Linked DNA regions of Homo sapiens: region 1 is linked to region 2. The links are contacts of gene promoters, found by promoter capture Hi-C in blood cells and fetal thymus (Javierre and others, 2016). All regions are on one chromosome and are shown on one strand. Each heading gives the region's core, a stretch centred on a gene start or on the middle of the fragment in contact. The rest is flanking DNA. Distances are from core to core; before and after follow the strand shown.

Region 1 (2,817 bases), core at 139-2,638, 470 kb before region 2:
ACCAAAAACGAAGGTCAGGAAATGATTAACTATTTTAGGAAAAGTGTATATTGCTAACTCATTCCAGAATAAGACCTGCAGTTTATTTACAGTTAAATGTTGTAAATGTACTAGCATTTATAACATTGAAAGTGAATATTCTCCATTGTTCTTGTTTTGAATACTTCATTTGATGGCTTTAAAAAATTTATTGAGCGCTATTATCTGCAGCACATGGTAGTAGGCTTATGATTTGAAAAATATGATGTATAGGGGAATATTAGGTATTGTGATGTCATAGAATATATCACCATAAGAGAAAAGAGGTTCATAAGTAGTTTTTAGGACTTTTTAAGAAGTGAGTACTCTCTCCTTGGTATTTTCCATGTATATTCTCAGATAATTTTTGTATACATACTTCCAGCCACATAGTAGGTACTCAAAAAATGTTTTCTAAATCATTGATGAAGGAATTCACAATAATAAATATAACAAAAATCTACAATTCCTAACAAGGAGTGTCTGTTATAGATAATGGATTTTATTATTTAAAGAAAATTACAAAAGGTTTACATATTTAGTAATTTTGTTTGTGTATGGTCACTTTTAATTGGCATCTTAACATTTCGTTTTTGTATTACAGTTGTTTTTAAGGGAAATGAATAGAAACAATCCACTTTGAAGAAGCCATGGCGAAATCAAAGACAAAACATAGACTTTGTTCTCAGGAATCTTCAGTATCTGCCCTGCTGGCAAGCTGCACCCTGAGTGGTAGTAATTCCTCTAATTCTGATGGCTCGTTTCACTATAAAGATAAGCTGTACAGATCTGCTTCTCAAGCTCTACAGGCTTATATTGATGATTTTGATCTAGGCCAAATATATCCTGGTGCAAGCACTGGAAAAATTAACATTGATGAGGATTTTACTAATATGTCACAGTTCTGCAACTATATTTACAAACCAAACAATGGTATGCTTTTATTCTTTGTTTTCTTTGTGTTCAGATGTTTTGAAGCATTTGGGAGATGTACTGTAGTATTGTAAAGTTTGACATTATTTTTGTTACTTTGGAGTAAAAATAACATAATATTGAGATCTGGGTGTTTTTGTAAAATGATTATATAATTCTCTGTGGAACAGTAATATTCACAAGATGTTAAGAGTTTGTCCATAATAAAGCTTCCTTGAAGACAAGTTTGGAAAATGCAGTTGTTGATAAGTCAATTACTACTTTACTTAACACTTGCAGAATGACCCTAGAATAGAAAAAGTTTGTATTCAGTTCTTGGAGGGATGTGGTCAATATATTCCGGAAGCAAAGAATGAGAACAGCTGTTCTCTATGTATAATCCATGCCATTGAAGGGTTTGTAGGTGAGAAAACAAGTTATTTTTCCACCTAGTTTAATAGCATATTTTTTTCTATGCTGCAACCAATATTGAGTGACCAATGTTACTGTGATTGTATTAGTGTATCAGATATGTCTAGATGATGAAAGTTGAAGGAACAGTAAATTAGAGAACACAGGAAAATTCAGGAGGTTGGAGAGAAACGTAGAAATTAACACAGAACGAAGAATCGTGAGAAAAAAAGCACATCCTGTTTTATCCACCTACACCTTTTTATGCTTTTAATCAAAGCTTTAGTGAGGATAAGGGGAAAGCAGCAAAATGCCTCTTAAATTCTTAATTCTCATTTACTGTTGGATATTATAAAATATTTGTATGTAATAAACAAAACTGTTCTTCGTTTTTCAGCTTTTGAAAACCTTGATCACAAAAAGCACTCAAACTTCATATCCTGTAGAAGACACACCGTTAATGACATAGACTCCATGAGCCTAACAACTGATGATCTATTAAGACTCCCAGCAGATGGATCATTTTCTTATACTTATGTTGGACCGAGTCACCGAACGAGCAAGAAAAACAAGAAATGCCGTGGAAGACTGGGTTCATTGGACATTGAGAAGAATCCACATTTTCAAGGACCCTACACTTCCATGGGCAAGGATAACTTTGTTACTCCTGTTATACGCTCAAATATAAATGGAAAGCAATGTGGTAGGCTGAAAAACCCAAAACTTATGAATAGGACTAATAATTGCATTTCTGAATCATCTTTGTCTTTTCCCAAGAAATCGTCTTTCAAGGACAGTTCAGAACACAGTCTTGAAAAGAATTACCCAAGATGGCTCACTAGCCAGAAATCTGACCTTAATGTTTCAGGGATAACTAGTATACCTGATTTCAAATACCCAGTCTGGCTGCACAATCAAGACTTGCTACCTGATGCAAATAGTCAAAGGGTTTATCAGATATTTAAAGATGATCAGTGTTCCCCTAGACATAGTCATCAGGCACAAGGAACTTCTCGGCTTATCAATAAATTAGATTGTTTTGAATATGCTTTTGAACCCTCAAACTTTTCAAATTCCTTGAGTGATGATAAAGAATTAGTTAATGAATACAAATGTGATTTTGAACATAGCCAGTGTCAATGTGAGAATCCACTTCTCCCAGGACAATCCACAAAGCCATTCAGTGGTAATACTTTGTTTATTGCTTATAGTTATTTATTTTTCTTTTTTTTAAACCAAAAGAAGTGCTGTAAAGTTGATGTGATATCTGGGAGCTTTTATGTTTTGTTTTCATGTAATACATCTTTTTGGAATGCTTATAATCTTCACATACAGCATTTTGTAACTAGAAAATGTCTTTTCTCCCATTTTTTTCTTTGCTTGAAATGTCACATTTTAACATAATTTGCTGTTATAGATGAATGTACATTCCAAATGATCAGAACTCTTGTTGACTTTGTGAGATTTTGCTATGCT
Region 2 (2,847 bases), core at 105-2,604:
CATAAATATAGATTCCAAGCATACATACTTTGAAAATCTACAGGCTGAGCCTCAAAGACTTTTATGCAGTAGATCCAAAATAATTTTTAGGAACTGGATCTTACTTGGGGAGAATGGAATAGATTGTTACCAAAATTATAAGTATAGCCAACACATTCATAGAACTTACTGTGCCAGGCACGTTCTACACACATTACTGATATGAAGTCAATTCTTCACAATAACACTATGAAGACATTATTATTACTCTTCTTTTCAACTTTCAAGAACATTGAAGGACATAAAATAGAACTTCTTTAATAGTTTCATAATAGAATAGACAGATTTCTATGAGACCAAAATGTTTTCTCTAATATTCCATTTTTCCACTAGTTTGCTATTGTTTGTTTTGTGTTTTGGTTTGGGCTATTCCTTTGCTCCCTTCTACAAGAAATTCTCTGGGAGCTGATAACAGCAGTGCCTCCCAGATTGTCTCTAGGGCATCGAATAAGAAACAAGTTAAGTAATTAAAATTCAAGCAGTCATTGGCATCTCGTTGTTTACTAACATGAATGCAAGACACAGGTTTGGAACTTTTAAATTTTGTTCACAGAGGAGTAAATCGGTTGTTATTATAATGTACCTAACCTTGTATTCTTACCTTTACTACCAGTCTGTAAATTAGGGATGTCTGAATGTGTCTAAAATGGAATCCCAAGATGGGCAGCCAGGATCTTTGCTTTGTGGACGAATCTAATGTGTTTAGAACACGGCATAGCACATAGTAGGTGCTTAACAAATACTGGTTCAATGCCTCCGTGTGCTCATTATCTTACTTAGTGGTAACCTATTGATCTCTGAAGTGACTTTAGGAAGTGAATTAGGGCTTTGGGAAGTGAATTTGGATGTTGCATACTGATTAATGCATTCATACGAACACATCCTAACTTTTAAAATATTAATTTCTTTCCAACGCCCTCTTTTATTTCCCGAGGCCATCCTCTGCTCCCCACTCGCAATCCCTCGCCTTCACTCCTCATAGTTAATGAGACACCCCCTCGGAGGAGAGAACGCAATGTCAGGGCCCCAGTTCTCACAGCGCCCTGGGCTCTTTGAATGAGAGACATCAAAGAAAACACAGAACAAAAATGAATAAAAATGAGCTCGCTGGTAAGGCTAGAAGCCCCACAGTGTGGAGACTTCATCCCCGAGAGGAGTGTGTTTCTCACTGCAGCAGTTGAGTCACCAGCAAGACTTGCCTGAGGTGAGCTCCGCACATCCGCGTTGGGACTTGCAGACACGCCTTCTTCTCACACAAACCTTACCCAGCCCCGCCGCCGCGGCGGACTCCGAGGGTGGTGCCACCAGCCCTGCCACTCGCAGTCCTGACGGGCAGGGGCTGCGGACCGCCCGGCCTTGGACCCATCCGGAGCCACAGGTTGGAGGAGATAAGTAGCTGTCCCCGTGCTCATCGCCCTGTGGAGCAGATCCTGTCTCCTTGCTGACGGTGGAGCCCGGGAGTTCCAGGGCTTGGGAAGGGGAAGGAAACCTCTCTGAAATCTGACACCTGCTCTCCCGGCAAGGAAACTTCGCAGGCTGGTGAGTTGGGAAGGCGGGCTGCTGCTGCTGGAACGCGTTCCCACCCACCCGGGTGCTGCAGCGCCGGCCTGCGCCGTGGGAAGTGAGGCCTCTGTGTGTGTGTGTGTGCATGTGTGAGTGCGTGTGCACCTTCGATCGCGGTTTCCAGCAGAAATCCTTGCAAAGAAGACAGTAGTGCTGTGTGCTGCACGGATGGCATGGGCCAACTCGACCTGGCTCTCCTTGAGTGTTTGCTTATCAAACAGCTGGTTACCACCAAAAAAAGCAAAAAGAAAAACAAAAAGCCTAGGCACAGCAATGCCAATTTCCTTTCATTTGCATCTCAAAAAACAATCAAAATAATGAATAAGAAAAAGCATGGATGATGATGTGCTCAGAGTTTCATTCCAGGAGGAGCGACTTAGTGAGGCAAGCCAGGAGAGCAATAAGACATTTATATGCACTTCCTTAGATGAAATAGCCACAGAGACCTTAAGAGTACTTTCTGTTTTCCAATTTTTTGCTCTGTTACTTTCGAATTCTGATCTAAGTGTTGCACCAACTAGGGTATATGTGTGCATGTGTGTTCACCCAACTGATCACAATAAATTAGCTTTCAAGACTTTCCCACCCAATGCAACATTAATTAAGCCTCTGAAAACTACTGAAGTAGGTGAACTGTAAGCAGAGACTGCATTCCTAGGAAAAAGCTGTGTTTGGTTAGAGCCTTCACACCTGTATCATGTTTTGTGAGTTTTTTATGTCAAGATGTAAAGCTAAGGGTATGTAATTCCAGTTGTTTTAAACTGCACATCATTAAATTAAGCCCAAAGTAATAACATAAATTTCAAGGTTATTAACAACAAAATTATTGTTTAATATAATACAGCTCTGAATTTTGATTTTGTTCTGTTTATAAGAAAAATGTCTACAGTTCTCAATATTTAGTTATATTCACACATATTCATTCATATATAGAATATACAGGGTTTTATGGTTATAAATTTTGAAAAGTTGAGGGAAAGGATAGACTTAAGCATTAATATAAACTCAGATATTTAAGTTTAATGAATTTTCAAGCTGCTGTAAAGTCCATATTGCAGTGATGAAGAGAGAGACATACCTGTCATGTGCCATTGCCCCTCAAATAGTTATTTTTCATAGTTTCCTAGCATAATCCTCTACCCAGATGGGGTCAGCCATCCTTGAAGGCAAGAGGTGATTCCTACCAATGACCAAAAAGGGGTAATCTTGACAGATAGTTTAATATTAATGGAGCTTTTCTGTTTC

Evidence for each region. Contacts are between HindIII fragments. The CHiCAGO score rates a contact against its expected background, and 5 or more counts as called.
Region 1: a contact is called between a fragment that was not itself captured here and the fragment with the promoter of RAB27B in region 2, in 1 of 17 cell types (erythroblasts). The highest score is 6.7, in erythroblasts.

The regions. Positions count from the first base shown.
Region 1 is chr18:54,359,905-54,362,721 of GRCh38, forward strand. It overlaps C18orf54 (chromosome 18 open reading frame 54), which reads left to right. Exons shown (of 9, transcript NM_001288980.2): 3 at 623-951; 4 at 1,739-2,527. The coding sequence starts at 669. Among named protein-coding and RNA genes, the nearest start is that of C18orf54, 3.4 kb to the left of the region's middle. The HindIII fragment of the contact is 461 bases long and covers 1,159-1,619 here.
Region 2 is chr18:54,827,123-54,829,969 of GRCh38, forward strand. RAB27B (RAB27B, member RAS oncogene family) reads left to right here and starts at 1,355. Exons shown (of 6, transcript NM_004163.4): 1 at 1,355-1,578. The HindIII fragment of the contact is 8,053 bases long and covers 1-2,847 here.